Regions from separate parts of the Homo sapiens genome. Here all the other regions are linked to region 1. The links are contacts of gene promoters, found by promoter capture Hi-C in blood cells and fetal thymus (Javierre and others, 2016). All regions are on one chromosome and are shown on one strand. The core of a region is centred on a gene start or on the middle of the fragment in contact, and the rest is flanking DNA. Distances in the headings are between cores, read along the strand shown.

Evidence for each region. Contacts are between HindIII fragments. The CHiCAGO score rates a contact against its expected background, and 5 or more counts as called.
Region 2: a contact is called between a fragment that was not itself captured here and the fragment with the promoter of LAMP3 in region 1, in 12 of 17 cell types (erythroblasts, M1 macrophages, M2 macrophages and 9 more). The highest score is 12.6, in erythroblasts.
Region 3: a contact is called between a fragment that was not itself captured here and the fragment with the promoter of LAMP3 in region 1, in 17 of 17 cell types (activated CD4 T cells, naive B cells, naive CD4 T cells and 14 more). The highest score is 19.8, in activated CD4 T cells.
Region 4: a fragment that was not itself captured here is called in contact with the fragment with the promoter of LAMP3 in region 1 in 3 of 17 cell types (neutrophils, total B cells and activated CD4 T cells); the score reaches 5.7 in neutrophils.
Region 5: a fragment that was not itself captured here is called in contact with the fragment with the promoter of LAMP3 in region 1 in 1 of 17 cell types (activated CD4 T cells); the score reaches 5.5 in activated CD4 T cells.
Region 6: a fragment that was not itself captured here is called in contact with the fragment with the promoter of LAMP3 in region 1 in 1 of 17 cell types (M1 macrophages); the score reaches 5.1 in M1 macrophages.

Annotation. Positions count from the first base shown.
Region 1 is chr3:183,161,361-183,164,110 of GRCh38, reverse strand. LAMP3 (lysosomal associated membrane protein 3) reads left to right here and starts at 1,377. Exons shown (of 6, transcript NM_014398.4): 1 at 1,377-1,504. The coding sequence starts at 1,456. RefSeq lists a silencer at 1,167-1,376 and an enhancer at 1,989-2,198. The HindIII fragment of the contact is 7,998 bases long and covers 1-2,750 here.
Region 2 is chr3:183,408,280-183,411,029 of GRCh38, reverse strand. The region is part of intron 1 of MCF2L2 (MCF.2 cell line derived transforming sequence-like 2); the gene reads left to right. Among named protein-coding and RNA genes, the nearest start is that of MCF2L2, 19 kb to the left of the region's middle. The HindIII fragment of the contact is 565 bases long and covers 1,058-1,622 here.
Region 3 is chr3:183,374,699-183,377,448 of GRCh38, reverse strand. All of the region lies in intron 3 of MCF2L2 (MCF.2 cell line derived transforming sequence-like 2), which reads left to right. Among named protein-coding and RNA genes, the nearest start is that of MCF2L2, 53 kb to the left of the region's middle. RefSeq lists a silencer at 34-93. The HindIII fragment of the contact is 1,531 bases long and covers 618-2,148 here.
Region 4 is chr3:183,354,189-183,356,938 of GRCh38, reverse strand. The region is part of intron 3 of MCF2L2 (MCF.2 cell line derived transforming sequence-like 2); the gene reads left to right. Among named protein-coding and RNA genes, the nearest start is that of MCF2L2, 73 kb to the left of the region's middle. The HindIII fragment of the contact is 4,685 bases long and covers 1-2,750 here.
Region 5 is chr3:183,330,344-183,333,093 of GRCh38, reverse strand. All of the region lies in intron 5 of MCF2L2 (MCF.2 cell line derived transforming sequence-like 2), which reads left to right. Among named protein-coding and RNA genes, the nearest start is that of B3GNT5, 78 kb to the right of the region's middle. The HindIII fragment of the contact is 894 bases long and covers 899-1,792 here.
Region 6 is chr3:183,309,072-183,311,821 of GRCh38, reverse strand. MCF2L2 (MCF.2 cell line derived transforming sequence-like 2) reads left to right here. Exons shown (of 30, transcript NM_015078.4): 8 at 50-174; 9 at 793-907; 10 at 1,987-2,106. Among named protein-coding and RNA genes, the nearest start is that of B3GNT5, 57 kb to the right of the region's middle. The HindIII fragment of the contact is 1,133 bases long and covers 862-1,994 here.

The DNA of each region.
Region 1 (2,750 bases), core at 128-2,627:
GCACATCTGTAATCCCAGCTACTGTGGAGGCTGAGGCAGGAGAATCGCCTGAACCCAAGTTTGCAGTGAGCCGAGATCACGCCATTGCCCTCCAGCCTGGGCGACAGAGTGAGACCCTGTCTCAAAAACAAAAACAAAAACAAACAAACAAAAACAAAGAAAGAAAAAGAAAAAAGAAAATAAAAAAACACACTGGGAGTGGGCATTATTATGTCCGTTTTACAGCTGAAGAATCCAAGGCTCCTAGAGGTTCCCCGACGCCGCACGCCGGGGAGTCGGCAGCGCGAGCTCCCAGCCAGACCTAGCGCCTCTGGGCTGTGCTCCTGTTGCTTCCCGCAAACCGCGGTCCTGGCGAGGCCTGGGCGTGGAGCGCGGCTGCCGCAGACTCCCTGGGAAGACATGGAGTCAGGGTGCTTAGGGGTTTTTAGGCTCCTGCTCGCCTAGTGGCTGGCTTTCTCCCGGCTGAGAAGCGTCTCTGGGTTCCCAGAAAGGTACCCGAGCTGTTAGAAAAGAGGAGACCCTGGGCCGGGCGCAGTGGCTCACGCCTGTAATCCCAACACTTTGGGAGGCCGAGGCGGGCGGATCACAAGGTCAGGAGATCGAGACCAGCCTGGCCAACAGGGTGAAACCCCGTCTCTACTAAAATACAAAAATTAGCTGGGCGTGGTGGCGGGCGCCTGTAACCCCAGCTACTCGGGAGGCTGCGGCAGGAGAATCGCTTGAACCAGGGCAGTGAGCCGAGATCCCGCCACTGCACTCCAGCCTGGCGACAGAGCGAGACTTTGTCTCAAAAAACAAAACAAAACAAAACAAAACAAAAGAAATAAAAAGAAAAGAAATAAAAGAGGAGACCCTGGCCGGGCTCGGTGGCTCACGTCTATAATCCCAGCACTTTGGGAGGTCGAGGCGGGCGAATCACGAGGTCAGGAGCTCGAGACCAGCCTGGCCAATATGGTGACACCCCGTCTCTACTAAAAATACAAAAATTAGCCGGGTGTGGTGGTGCATGCCTGTAATCCCAGCTACTCGGGAGGCTGAGGCAGAAGAATCGCTTGAACCCGGGAGGCAGAGGTTGTAGTGAGCCGAGATCGCGCCACTGCACTCCACCCTGGGCGACAGAGCGAGACTTCGTCTCAAAAAGAAAAGAAAAAGAAAGGAGGAGACCCAGGGTATGAGCGGAGGAGGCCGGCGCTGCCGGGACCACGCGCGTGCGGTAAACGGTCCCAGAGGCCCGGGCCCCGGCGGCTGCGCCGAGTCCCCGCCCCTCCCTGCTCCGTAGGGGTAGGAGGGGGCCGGCGGAGTTTCCCTCCCCGCCCAGCGGCCCTGGGCGGGCTTTTCGGCTGCTTCTCATAAGCAGGTGGTTTCGTTTCTCCGGCACAGGTAGGTTTCTCTGGCACCGATTCGGGGCCTGCCCGGACTTCGCCGCACGCTGCAGAACCTCGCCCAGCGCCCACCATGCCCCGGCAGCTCAGCGCGGCGGCCGCGCTCTTCGCGTCCCTGGCCGGTGAGTGGCCCTCAGCGCTTCCCGCGGTGGCCCTGACGTGTCGGTCCCCTTTCATCTAAACGCACTCTGGAGTCCCGGGCGCCACAGGACGGGCTGCGGGTAGGGAGGTGTGGCGCGTCCAAGGGCTTCCCAGCTGGAACTTGTTTTCCGTGAGTTACTCAGAGCAGGTGTCAACCCCAAAGACAGTGACACTGTCCCTCGCTTCCAAAAGGGTTCTGGACACCTTCTCAGGGAGAGTTTGTAGAGGTCACTCGGATTTAAGAGATGGAGACCTGAGCTAGGGTTTAGGAATGGGAGTCTTGGCTTTGTTATCCGGGAAAAGCGCTCCTGTCTTGCTTTTCCTTGCATCAGATGTGGTCTGACAGATTGTGCCATTTCAGAAAGGTGTAGGAAGAGTGTCAAAGACTTTTTTTTTTTTAAATGATCATTGTACTTCCCATCCCAGATGCCGTCTGGGACGCTGAGTTTATGATTATTTTATGATCCGACCCTCCGCTTTCTCCAGAGCTTTTCCCCCTAGACATTGAGTCCTCGGGTGCTGTGGTGTTGTCCCTGTGATGAAGTTTCCTGGTTACTCGAACGTCATGAGAGAACTGTCTCCGTCCCTACCGCCCGGCTAACATGCTCAAGCAGGGGGCGCGGTGGCCCTTGCTTGTAACATGAATGCTAGGAATGTTAGGGAAGAGGTGAGAAGGGTCGTGCCAGCTGCCCTTGCCTAGGCAGTTCTCCCCTGCGCCACACTTTCACACTTACAGTTTCAGGTTCTTTTAGGGGACAGAAGAGGAAGTCATCATCACGCTCCACAGGGCAAGCTATTAAAAAAGCAAAACAATCTCAGCCTAGCGGTAACCCACAGTGACCTGTATGTGAGCGCTCCTTGAATGGATGGATAGGCTCAGAAACACAATGGTATTGACAGGCCAGGCGTGGTGGCTCACACCTGCAATCCCAGCACTTTGGGAGGCTGAGGCCGGCGGATCACTTGAGGTCAGGAGTTCGAGACTAGCCTGGCCACCGGTGAAACCCCGCCTCTACTAAAAATACAGAAATTAGCCGGGCATGGTTGTGGGCGCCTGTAATCCCAGGTACTCGGGAGACTGAGGCAGGAGAATCACTTGAACCCAAGAGGCGGAGGTTGCAGTAAGCCAAGATCATGCCACTGCACTCCAACCTAGGTAACAGTGAGACTCTGTCTCAAAAAAAATAAATAAATAAAAATAAAAATACAGTGAGTATTGACAAATGC
Region 2 (2,750 bases), core at 91-2,590, 250 kb before region 1:
GCTAGGGAGTATCTCACAGAACCTCAGAGCAGGAGGTCCCCCTGGGCCTCATCAGCAAGGTGCACAGTCAGGAGCTAAGACAGCTGTTCTCTCTCTGGTGTCACCTGGTCACTGTGCTCTGCTTCCCTCCTGTGTCTATACCATTCTTCTGCTTTTCTCTGCAGATCAGCTCTTTATTCAGCTGTGGATTTAGAGAGTGGCTGGATCTTGGGATGGGGGTAGAAGTCCTTGGGGAAGAGGGCTTTGGGGTGAACAGTCACCCTAAAACAAGTCTAATAACTTGGGAAGTACTGGCATTATGCTTTCAACTTTTAGAATCATTAAGAATGTAAAATACTTAGACGGTTTTACAGGCTGGCCTGGGAAAAACAGGAACCTTGCCCCATATTCAGTGTGCCACCTCCCCTGTGTGACTGCCTAGGTGCTCGGGCACCATAACTACATTAAGATGTCACTGGTCAATGAACGGATGGTATTTAGACAGCACCCACCACGACCAAGGCACTGGCCCGGGCATATGGCCCACAAGCTGTCATGGGGAGAGAATTATGGGGAATCTGAGGGCCTGAGCTCTTAACACTGGCTGAGTCACCCATGGGTCCCTGCTTTATCCAGATAACAAATGATCTGAGGGGTTTGGAGAGGACGCTTGTAGGCCACTGGACTGGAGGGGAGTTCAAGGCCCAATATGATAGTTATATTAAGAAAGACTGCAAAAAGTCACAAGTTGATGCTTGATCAATTGCCAATATAGATAGTGCTGTGAGAGTTTGGAGGCTGAAGTTATTGTGAGCTTCAGTGACTGGAAAAAGCTTCATATGAGATGTGACTTGAGCTGATCTTGAAGGAAGGAAAAGATTTAGATAGATGGAGAGGGGAAAGCTATTTAATTGGCGGGATAAGGGGAATAGCCACTTTTAGAGATTGCATTGGTCTTTCTGCACTAGTTGTCCAATTTATTGTAGTCTCTGCCTAGGCTTCCATGGTCAACAACCCTTCCTTGGACAACAAAGCTCAACAGTGAGCTTTACCTTGAAAGAAAGAATGACCTCAAGCTTGAAGGCAGACCTATGGTGTCTCACTGTTTTTCCTTCCTCATATAGATCCTTTTCTAGGAGTTAAGAGATTGGGAAAGGCTAGAGGATATGGAAATAACATTTAAAATGATGTTATTGGCTGGGTTCAGTGGCTCACGCTTGTAATCCTAGCACTTTGGGAAGCCAAGGTGGCTGGATAACCTGAGGTTAAGAGTTTGAGTCCAGCCTGACCAACATGGTGAAACCTCGCCTCTACTACAAAATACAAAAATTATCCAGGCATGGTCATGGGCACCTGTAATACCAGCTACTCAGAAGGCTGAGGCTGGAGAATCACTTGAACCCAGGAAGTGGAGGTTGCAGTGAGCTGAGATTTCACCATCGCACTCCAGCCTGGGCAACAGAGCAGAAACTCCATCTCAAAAAAAAAAAAAAAAAAAAGAAATTTTAGCTACCATTTATTTCCTGCCTTTTAGTGTCACAAGTTGTGCTTTATTATGTACATTTTTATTTAATTAAGTTTAATGGTAAGTGCAGTCTATTTATATGGAGGAGAAATTTGAGGCTTAAGCAGGTTAGGAAGCTTGCCCAAGGTCATAGCAAGAGGAAACGTCAGAATCAAAAGTCAGGTCTGGCTGGCTTTGAGGCATTTGAATGCTCACATTTGCTTTAATTTCCCATGACAAAGTGATATATAAACCAGTAAATGACAAAGTGCTATTACTGAGTTTTGAAAAATCTTTTGAAAAAATCAAATAGAAAATGAAAGCATTAATCCCTGAATCTTAAGTATTTTATGAGCCACTCGAAAAGTTGGCTTATTAATAGTCACTTTCTTCCAAAGAAAAACTGTTAGCTAAAGCTAGAGGATTTACTTTGTAGTCTTTAAACATGCAGAAATAATACATACATAATTCTTAAATAAGGATAATAAGCCTGTTAAGGAAGAAATGTTTGCCTAATTGCATTTCCCATGCTAAGCACTAGAGTCTTAAACAAACAAAAAGTCTAATAATCTAATAAAGTTATAACCTCCCATTATCATGGCAAGGTGGCAGCACCACTATGCACTTTTATTTAGTATAGAAGACTTTCTGTATTTAGAGGACTTTACTGTGAGGGAGTTATAAGTACAAACTGTATGCATGTGGACAAACTACAGGTGTTCAAAATGAGCACAGAGGCTTAGAAGAGTTGCCTCTGGATTTCTTTGTTCAGTTATTTGAACTGAACCTGTCCAGCCCAGGTTTTGGATTGTGTGTCTGTTTTTTTCTACCTATTGTTAGATCAGTTCACATTCATTTTAGCTTTCTCTTTCAATACCCTGGGAAGCTAGAATTAATTAAATTGCTGTGGGGAAAGAGGTCCTTCTGCCTGTTTCTCCTCTTTAATCCCCAATTTAAGACTAACCATATTTCATGAAGGCCTGCGGGAGCTGGGCACTGGGCCAGGTCTAAGGATGGGATATGAAGGAGTGGGGATAACCCCTGCCCATGGCCATAGGTCCCTAGGGGCCAGAACCAGGCCACCACCTCCACTGCTGCAGCCGCAGCATCCTGCGCAGCTCCTCAGGTGTAATGGGGGCCAGGAGGAATGAAGGAATGTCCTTCTGGAGCCTGCGGTCTAATGGGGAGGTAGACATTAAGCAAACATAAGACAGTATTTAGGCAAAGTTAGCCATCATTCCCAGGTCGCTCGTGGAGTCCCAAGCCT
Region 3 (2,750 bases), core at 134-2,633, 210 kb before region 1:
AACAAATGGTATTTGTTGTAGGGTGATGAAGGGGTTAAAATATGCTATTCTGTACTATGCGCCATAAAAAAGAATGAGTTCATGTCCTTTGCAGGGACATGGATGAAGCTGGGAGCCATCATCCTCAGCAAACTAACACAGGAACAGAAAACCAAACACCACATGTTCTCACTCATAAGCAGGAGTTGAACAATGAGAACACATGGACACAGGGAGGGGAACATCACATACCGGGGCTTGTTGGAGGGTCGGGGACGAGGGGAAGGAGAGCATTAGGACAAATACCTAATGCATGCGGGTCTTAAAACCTGGATGATGGGTTGACAGGTGCAGCAAACCACTGTGGCACATGTATACCTATGTAACAAACCTGCATGTTCTGTACATGTATCCCAAAACTTAAAGTAAAAATTTAAAAATGCCATTCTGGAATATTGACTATTTAAGTTAAAAGCACTTGAAAAACAGCAGGTACAAGAATATCACTTTGACCTTTGTGCTGTTTCTTAAGAGGAGAAGATGGAATTCCTATGTGAAAGACACTCTCTAGGGACTAGAAGGAAAGGTAACTTAGAGAATATTGCACAGACCTTGTTAGAAATTCTATTTTTTAAGCTTCCCCACATAATTTAGTCACATTTTCATAGTTTATTATTCTTTGTTCAATCCAGTATAGAAGTAACTGACTCTAACTGATTCTTTGGGTCTTCATTTCTTTATGAGGGCTCTTGTGCCATGTAAAACATTTATGAATAAATGTCTATGCTTTTCTCATGTTAATCTGTGTTTTGTCGATTTAACTCTTGGACCCAGCCAGGACCCTAAGACAATAGAGGTGAAGTTTTTCCATTCCTACAGTGAGAAGGGGGACCCTGACGGAGGGGAACCCCAGCTCTTCATTCCTGCCTTTATCAACCTGGGTTTTAAGAAGTTGAACTTGAACTCTGTCTTTGGCCCAGTGGCATTTCAGGACAATATCCCATCAGTTTAGCAACTTCTGTGGGAGCGGCAAGGAAGAGGGTGAATAGGGATGTAGACAATAGGAGGAGTGTCCCCTGTCCCCATTCTCCTTATATTTGTTTTAAATTCGATGTCTAGTTTTACTTAATCCCCAGGGATACAGTCAAATGCTAAGTTAAATGGAGGATTTTCCTTTTGCATTTGCAGCCTTTTCCAAATCACGCTGAAGATAGCTCAGCCCCCCGGACTGTGTGGCAAGAAGCAGGCAGGGTTATCACCCCTATCTCACAGATGGAGATGAGGAGATCAAACAGGGGCTTCTGTTTTGGATTTCTTTGTTCTACTGTAGGCTCCTGGTACAATTTCTTGTGACCTAGGGAATATTTTCTTTTCCTAGAATGCTGTTTGTCTTTCGGGAAAGAGTGGCTGTCTGGCCAGTTCTTCCCCTCGCCTTTCTTCTTCCGCTTTTGCTCACACTACTTGCTGCCCCTCCCCTGTTCCTTTCCACAAAAAGTGGAGACAAAGGGTGAGAAGGCCTGAAAGGGGAACTTGACTTGGACCTATGTCTAATTTCCATGTCAGATTTCAAAGAATGAAACCACCCTTGTTCGTTTTATGACTCCTGTTTATCACAATTTGCATCTTTTTGTACGTTACATAGTTATCCAGTACCAGAGTCCTTCCCAATTGCAAAATGTTTTATAGACAGGTGGCAGAGGGCTCGTGGATGGATAAAAAAGAATTGATACACTAGAATAGGAAAATGGCAGGATACTTGGGGTTGGGAAATGCTATCTTTGTGCCTGAAATTAATTAGGATCTCGCATTGTGAGTGGGTTGGGCAGGTACAGAAAGGCTTCCCACAGTAATTCATTCTTCAGCAGACCTCTATGAGAGCCCACAGCATGTAGGGTGCGGTGTACGATGCTGTAAAGGACTGAAAAACCTCAAGACGATGTCTCAGACCGCAGGAAACTCATTACATGACTCTGTTATCAATATCTTTTGTGAAATATGTAAACAAAGTGCTATAGGAGCTCAGAAAACAGAAAGTCACTTCGACAGGAAAAAAAGGGAAAACTTCAGGAAAAAAGGGGGTTTCAATCCAGACCTGTAAGAGAGGGTTCTTGGATCTTATGTGGGAAAGAAGTCAAGGAGAGTCACAAAATGCAGTGAAAGAAGCAAGCTTATTAGAAACTACTGTTACAGAGTAGGGTGCCCTCAGAAAGCAAAAGGAGGAACGCATTGACTTTAAGTTTTTCTTATATAGGGATCTTGTCTATATAAAGATTAAACTAAGCTGTGCCTATGTGCGGATGGGCAGACAGTGTGACAAAACTTATTATTCTATTGATTTAAAGAAAACTATCCTTGACATTTTAGTGTGTGAGAACATCAAAGCATAACTATAATTTTTTGAAAACATATATTGTTATGGTATTGGGACATCTGGACTTTCTGTTGTTGTAGTATCCTTAGGCTGTTTTCTCAACCATAAACATCTTATGACCATGGGTCCTGGTTGGCAAGGAATGTGCCTTGTTACTCTCAAGATGGAGCTGAACTTAAAATTGTGTCACTTTCACTCTCCTAGGCTCCTGCCTCCCTAACAAAATGTCCTTGAGGGGATGGTACAGTTGCTACAGATAGATACAGAAGGGAGCATTCCAGAGAGAGAAAAGGATAGTGTTGAAGAGCTTTGAACACAGCCCAAACCTGGATTGAAATCCAGATCCTATTGCTCACTAGCTAGGTGGTCTGGGGCAAATGACATGGCTTCTATTTTTTCT
Region 4 (2,750 bases), core at 123-2,622, 190 kb before region 1:
ATTCTCCCATTGCTCCCTTTTCATAAGAGTGTATTCTTGTTTTATGGATGGAGTATTCTTTCAACAGTCTGAGATTACTGACTAGAAAAAATATAAACTTTTTTGTAGTTGTTTTCATTGTTTCTAGATTGGCTGTTCTGTTTGTTCACCTCAGTCTTTCTCTTTGATGCTTTGCTTTTATTCAATTCAGAAGATCTTTGGTTGCCTTTTTATATTTTTGAAGGGTTATGTTGTAAATATAATTATCTGACTTGGATTTCCTTTGCAATTGGGTAGCTCTGTTTAACCAAGGTACTTGCACTTGAATGGGAGGAAATTGAGGTCAGTAGACTCTGCAACAGTGAGTGGGTCCTATAAATAGATTTTCCTTTAGGGATGCTTGATTAGGGAGTAGGCAATACTTTTATTTTATTTATTTATTTATTTTGAGACGGAGTCTTGCTCTGTTGCCAGGCTGGAGTGCAGTGGCGCAATCTCGACTCACTGCAACCTCTGCCTCCCGGGTTCAAACAATTCTCCTGCTTCAACCTCCTGAGTAGCTGGGACTACAGGTGCATGCCACCACGCCCAACTAATTTTTATATTTTTAGTAGAGACAGGGTTTCACCGTGTTGGCCAGGATGGTCTCAATCTCTTGACCTCGTGATCAGCCTGCCTTGGCCTCCCAAAGTGCTGGGATTACAGGTGTGAGCTACAATGCCCGGCAATACTTTTTTTTTTTATAATAAAGAGTACTTTGCTCTAGAGGCAGAGTTTTTTTTTTTTTTTTAAGTCAATTTTATTTCTAGAAAGACCTGCTCTTTGTATTCTTCTTTTGAGTCTTTCTTGCATATGGTCTGAAGTTTCTTCAGGCACTGCTCTTCCTCCTCCTTAGCTTCAACTCCTATAGCCTAGGCACTGTCCTGGCAAATCTACTTTGTGAAGGAAGAGGTTTGCAAGGCTGCAGATGGGGCAAATGCTACAGCCAGCTGCTCTTTATTCACAAGGGGAGGGGAGGGGGGAAGGAGGGGCCCACTGCCCTAGTCACTCCAAGTGAGGCCCCAGAATGAACATCACCTGGAAGCCTGTCAGAAATGCAGAATCTGGGGCATCACCCCTAGCTTCATGACTTGAAATTGCTATGTTTAACAGGACCCTCAGGTGACTGGTGTGGACTTGAAAAGCATTGTTGATGGCCGGGTGCGGTGGCTCACGCCTGTAATCCCAGCACTTTGGGAGGCCGAGGCAGGCGGATCACGAGGTCAGGAGATCAAGACCATCCTGGCTAACACGGTGAAACCCTGTCTCTACTAAAAATACCAAAAAAAAAAAAAAAAAAAAAAAAATTAGCTGGGCGTGGTGGCGGGCGCCTGTAGTCCCAGCTACTCGGGAGGCTGAGGCAGGAGAATGGTGTGAACCCGGGAGGCGGAGCTTGCAGTGAGCCGAGATCGCGCCACGGCACTCCACCTATGCGACAGAGCGAGACTCCGTCTCAAAAAAAAAAAAAAGGAAAGGAATTGTTGATTATGGTAGCTAAGTAATTATTTTGCTATTCCTGCTTTCTGCCCCCCTCTACTGAAAGAGTAAGACTGTGTTGGAGTTGCCTCTAAGAGGCCTTCAAGCATTTTCCCCTCCATTTTCTAAGGTCAGTATCCTTAGAAAGAGGAATTCATTCATATCCACAAGCAACAAGATCTGATCCTTTTCTAGTGACATTACCTGTCTCTTGCTTCCTCCTCACAATCCCCTAGTTTTTTTCATTTTCAAACATTTCATGTAAATTCTAGAAATCAATATCATGTAAAGAAAGTTGTGGTGGAGTGTGTGGAGGGGATGGGATCCATTAGACTTATGAAAATAAAATAAAATAAATAATAAATAATATAATGAATAATAAATAATATTATTAAAATAAATAGAAGCATTTTATGCCAGTGCTTTAAACAATTATTTTATATCACTTCACACAGTACAAAGACCTGGAAACATGCTTTAATTCTTACATTTATTTCTGTATTTATTCATGCATTCATGATGGATTTATTCCCTTTGCATGCTTATAGGGACTACGTTATTGATCAGTAACATACCTATGTTGACTCAAAAGGGCCAAACTCTGTAAAATATTTGAAGAACTTTATTCTGAGCCAAATGTAAGGACCACGACGCCATGACACAGCCTCAGGAGGTCCTAAGAACATGTGCCCAAGGTCATTGGGTAATAGCTTGATTTTATACATTTTAGGGAGACAGGAGTTACAGGCAAACAACAATCAATACATGTAAGATGTACATTGGTTTGGTCCAGAAAGGTGAGACAACTTGAAAACTTGAACCACTGGGTGAGAGACTTACAGATCATAGGTGGATTCAAACATTTTCTGATTGGTAATTGGTTGAAATGGTTAAGTTATTATCTAAAGAGTAGAAGTCAGCAGAAAGAAATGCTGGGGGTTAAGATAAGTGGGGTGGGGTGGGAGGGTGCAGGTTGTGGAAGCCAAGGTTCTTGGTATGTAGCAGGCTTTAGAGAGAATAGATGGTAAATGTCCCTTATCAGACCGTAAAAGGTGCCAGACTCTCAGTTAAATCTCTCTCCTGGATCAGGAAAAGACCTGGAAAGGGAAGGGGATTCTCTGCAGAATGTAGATTTTCCCCACAAGAGACAGCTTTGCGGGATCATTTCAAAATATGGCAAAGAAATATATTTTGCAGAAAAAATAATTCTATTTCTTTCAGGGCCTGCTGTCATGTGACGCTGTACTAGAGTCAGG
Region 5 (2,750 bases), core at 96-2,595, 170 kb before region 1:
ACCTGGGCGACAGAGCAAGGCTCTGTCTCAAAAAATAAATAAAAATAAAATTACCCTGAAAGAATATTAAACCCATCTCAGTGAAGACTTGCCATCTTAGACAAGGGATTTTTCTCATTTTTCTCTCTCCTTTCCTACTCTTATTTTCCTTGTTTTGGTTCCATCCTGTATTAATAATCAAATTTCTGAAAATCCTTTCTTTTCTACTTTGGGGATTAGCCAAACTCAAAATGAATTTCCCATTCTATTTTAAATACTCATTTTTGAAACACTTGAGTGTTTAAGGAAAATGTGAGGCCTGAGTTCTTTGCTCAGTTTTCCTAACTTGAGTAACTGTTGATGTTTGGGAAGAGATGGAGACTGACAAGAAGCCGATGACGTGTCATCATCTTCACGAGTCCCTTCGTGACTCCCCTTCAGAAATGAAGACTCATCAATTCTTCTTGCCACTCAAAAACGTTTGGAGTTGGAACTGAGCATTTGACCAAATGTCACGCGTATTTCCCTGATTGCATATAAAACACGTGTTTTATACATATGATACATATGATCTAGGTGTGCTCATATGTACACAGATACATTTGTGACTTATGCCCTCCTTCTCAGGTGATGCATCTACACCTAGGAGGGACTGAACATCTACTTTATCTCGATATTCTGACTTTAGCTACCTCTATTTGTGGTAGTGTAGGTTGATTCCCTGCCTGACCTGCTTTTAATTTTAAACTTAAAATCAACTTTTGAAAAAGCTCTCAGTCACCCAAACCCTGGGCACATTGAGTAGGGCATTCTTTAATGCAAGTTCACTCCGTAAGTAACCATTTCACCTGACGCACAAGGTCACACTCCCTGGTAGCGCTGATGCTCCAGAAACGGCAGAGTCTGAAGTTATCAAGCTTAATGAAATCTAACTTCTCAATACGTGTTGCCTTCTCAATGACAGTTCAAACTGTCAGTTTATCTTCTTTATTTTTAAAACGTGTTGTGATATTAGCACTTTACTTTGTAGCTTCCTAGCCTCTCTTATATTATAACATCTTCCTGGTCATTTCTAGTTAGATAATTACATTTTCACGTGTTGGGGGGAAAGGAGTTTATTTTGTGTGACTGGTATAGGAATCAGGTGGGTCAAGGATGTAATTGTAGCCAAGTGACAGCCTCCCTCTACCTTTATCTATGGAGGGGAAGTACTTTCATGTAGTAAATGGTTTTTGTTTGTTTTTGTTTTGTTTTGTTTGAAACTGTGTCTTGCTCTGTCACCCAGGCTGGAGTGCCGTGGCTCCATCAGGACTCACTGCAGCCTCAACCTCCTGGGCTCAAGTGATCCTCCTGCCTTGGCCTCCCAGTAGATGGTTTCTGAGTCCCTGTTGCTGGCCAGGCACTTCCCTATTCTGGAACAGCTGTACTCATAGCAGCCTCATAAAACTGTTAATGTGAAGTCACCAAGGCAGTCTTGTAAAACTCCTGAAGAGGCTATGATCGTGGAAATTGGTTGCTTAAAATGGAGTTTGTGTCAGAATACAGGAAATGCTTCTTGTGCAGTTAAAAGACCATGTATTTCTTTGAAAGAACGGTTTTAAGCATCTATAGATAAGAACACAAATGTATACAGAAAAGGAAAAGAAACAAGACATTTTTAGCTTTTAACAATTGTTACAAGAATATGCACGTATGGTAAAGTTGGTGGGGCCACAGGAAGAGACAGGCTTGGAAGGAAGAAGTTTATAATATCCACATGTCCAGGGGTCGGGGTCACCTCACGCCGCATGGGCTACTGGGGAAGCACCAAGCTTTGGTCAGGAGGCAGAAGAAGGAGGCAGAGGAAAGTCTAGGACAGAGCGTTTACTGGAGTTCTGCAGGCAAAGCAAGGCAGGATTTAGTATGGACTAGTTTGAATAACTCCTGCAGTCTTTGGGGTATAAGGATTGTCTCTTTGTTACATGGCACCTGGCCCTGGGATGACTTAGGGCAAGGTAAACAATGGCCTGGTGTGTGAGAGTTTGATAAGGTGGTGGTTGGGGATTTGGATTTGAGACTGGTTGTTTTGCGTATGAAAGACCTGCTCCCAGCTAACCCCTTCCCTGTCTCTAAGAAGTGGTTAGCCCTGGGGTGGGGGTGGCGGGGCAGTCTCTTCCTAGTCATGGAGGCCACAAATGCCAGAGCCTCAAGAGTACAGAAAATAAGAAAATGTGGCTCATGTAATTGACCCTGTAATGAGAGGATGCCAAATAGACAAAAACAGAATCCAAGAAAAGACAGAAAAAATGTTTTAAGGCCAGTTTTACATGCTTAGTGTGTCCTGTGGGTTTGATGAGCACAATTATTCTGCCTTTTTTCTTCACTATATAGAATATAAAAACTTTTTAAACATTTCTATCCTGTAAAGATTAAAAGAAGAAAAAAAATGTGGGGAAACTGCCTCTCATTTGTTTTTGAAAATTTACATCAGGTAAAATTCACTCTCTTTGGTGTACAGTTCTATGAAGTTTGACAAATGCGTGGTGTTATCCAGTCACCACAATAAAGATACAGAACAGCCCCATCACCACGCAAAACTTCCTCACTCTGCCCTTTTGTAGCCAGCCCCTCTCCCCATCCCTAATCCCTGGCTGCCACTGATCTGCTCTCCATCCTTATAGTTTTGCCTTTTTGCAGAGAGTCATACAAATGCAATTCCAGCCATGTGCTGCATAACAACATTTTGGTCAACAACGGACCACATATACAGTGGTGGTCCCATAAAATTATAA
Region 6 (2,750 bases), core at 179-2,678, 150 kb before region 1:
AATTTGTTTTTTCTAATTCGTTCTAAGAGAGACTACTTTTATTTTCTAGGATGAGCTGAAATTACTTGGAAAGCAGGGGACCACATTGCTGTCATGCATCCAAGAACCAGCAACCAAATGTCCCAACAGCAAACTCAATCTCAACCAACTTGAGAATGTAACTACCATGGAAAGGTGAGTGAGTGAAGTGGAATCAGCCTTTTCAGGAGAGAATATGTAGACCTAGATGTTCTGGAGCAACCAAGAACAGATTGGAACAGCCAATATTGGGTCTTGGTGGGGCCAAGGAAGAAGAATATTTGAGACAACAAAGGAAAAAAGAATACGTCCGTCTGGCATCCACATACAGAGATCTTTTTATGAGCATTCTATTCCCCCCTCTTCAATGTATATGACATGTTCCCACCCTAGGATTTTGAGGGAGAGGGTAGTATTTACTGGGCTTCATTTCCAAGTAACAGTTTAGCTTGGAGCTGTGCTTTATATTCGTGTAGTCTCAGGTAGAAAGAAAGAAGGCATGAAGGTAAGATCAGCCGGAGCACATTCTAAAGCACAGCAGCTGCATCTGAAGCAAAGTCACTGCCTGCACTGTGGATGTCCTGATTGGAAAATGAAAGGTGCAAAGCCTGCTGAGCCAGAAGAAAGGCATAGGTGACACATGCTTTCATAATAATGAGATGGTCACAATTGACACCACTGACCGAAGACACAGGTGTTCTAGCCATAGGCCTATATGGATGCCTGTGGAAATGAATGCTAACCTAACATCACTTTCTCATTCTTTCTTGAAAGGTTATTAGTTCAACTGGATGAAACAGAAAAAGCCTTTAGTCACTTTTGGTCTGAGCATCATCTGAAGCTTAACCAGTGCCTACAACTACAGCATTTTGAGCACGATTTTTGTAAGGTATTCTTTTCTTGTTTACTGTAACTTTCTTTTCTGGTACCGGGACCTCTGGTTTTCTCTCCCTCCTCACTCTTTGGTATGGGGTTTCCCTCTTTTCCCTAATCCAGCTTTCTCCTTATCTCCTTGCTTCTTTACAGACCACCCCCTCCAACCCCCTTCTCACTTTTTCAGTGGAGTCAAACTGTTCTAGAATCCCATTTACCTGTTGATGTACATGGCATTTCAGTGATGGTTTATCTTCCTTTTTTTTTTGAAACAGGGTCTTGCTCTGTCACTCCGGCCGGAGTGCAGTGGTGTGATCATGGCTCACTGCAGCTTTGATCTTCTGGGCTCAAGCTATCCTCCCACCTCAGCCTCCCAAGTAGCTGGAATTACAGGCATGCCCCACCATCACACCCGGTAATTTTTTTTTTGAGTTGGAGTCTCACTCTGTTGCCCAGGCTGGAGTGCAATGGCGCGATCTCAGCTCACTGCAACCTCCGCCTCCCAGGTTCAAGCGATTCTCCTGCCTCAGCCTCCTGAGTAGCTGGGACTACAGGTGCCCACCACCACACTCAGCTAATTTTTTGTATTTTTGGTAGAGATGGGGTTTCACTGTGTTAGCCAGGATGGTCTCAATCTCCTGACCTCTGTGACCTACCTGCCTCGGTCTCCCAAAGTGCTGGGATTACAGGCGTGAGCCACTGCGCCCGGCCCAGATAATTTTTAAATATTTTTGCAGAGACGAGGTCTCCCTATGTTGCCCAGGCTGGCCTCGAACTTCCAAGCACAAACAATCCTCCTGCCTCAGCCTCCCAAAGTGCTGTGATTATAGGCATGAGCCACTGGACCCAGCTGTCTTCCTTTTTGATTGATTATCTGTTGAATATAGTTCTAATAGTTCAGCTACAGGTGAATTCTGCACCCCCAGCTTAATTTGAAAGTTAGTGAGCTGCAAAAAAAAAATTTTTAACATATATAGATATATACAAGTCTTGAATCCTTTTTGGAATTTTGAGTTTTCTTGAAGCATAACAAACCTATACCTTCAGGTGAGTGAGTGTTGGTTTACTTCTGGACTGTTCTAATGTTTCTTGTAGGCTAAGCTTGCCCTGGATAATTTGCTGGAAGAGCAAGCAGAGTTTACAGGCATTGGAGACAGCGTGATGCACGTGGAGCAGATTCTTAAGGAACACAAAAAACTGGAGGAAAAAAGCCAGGTTTGCTTTCTGACATTTTTGTGTACTGGGAGGGAGGTTGCTGTGGACAATGATGGATCATGTCCAGTCATTGCTATTGGAAGGTTGCTAAAGGACACAGGAATGCCCAGTCCTGCCCTTCAGTCACCCCAGGATCCCAAGGAGAGAGGCACATTAACAACTGCTATGAATAATACGGGCAGCACAGAGTCCTATTAAAGCTGCCGGAACATACAGTTGCAGTTGGACGCTCAGGTCGGGTGAGGACTCTGGACCAGCCCTGCCCTCTCACGTGGTCAGCAGCCAAGTGGGAGAAGGTCACAACAGGCTCATCACTCACCAGAACAATTATATCAGAGGCTCACCCATCAGCTTGAGCTCCTCCCTGGAGCCTGGACTAGGGGGCTGGGGGTTGTGGGGTTGGTAGTAAGGATGGGAAACTTTCAAAGGAGAAACCAGAAAAAAAAAAACAACTAGTTTTATACCTGGAGCAAGACAATTAGATGGGGGAAATTGGTCCATGTTAGTTCCATTGCTACACAGAATTGGCAAAGCTTTCTCCTTTCTCATGTCCCAAGAGTTGTAAATGTGAAACTTGTAAAAGAATATGTATTTTACAGTCCCATACTGGAATTAAACAGTGTCCCAGATCCGCACACAAGTCA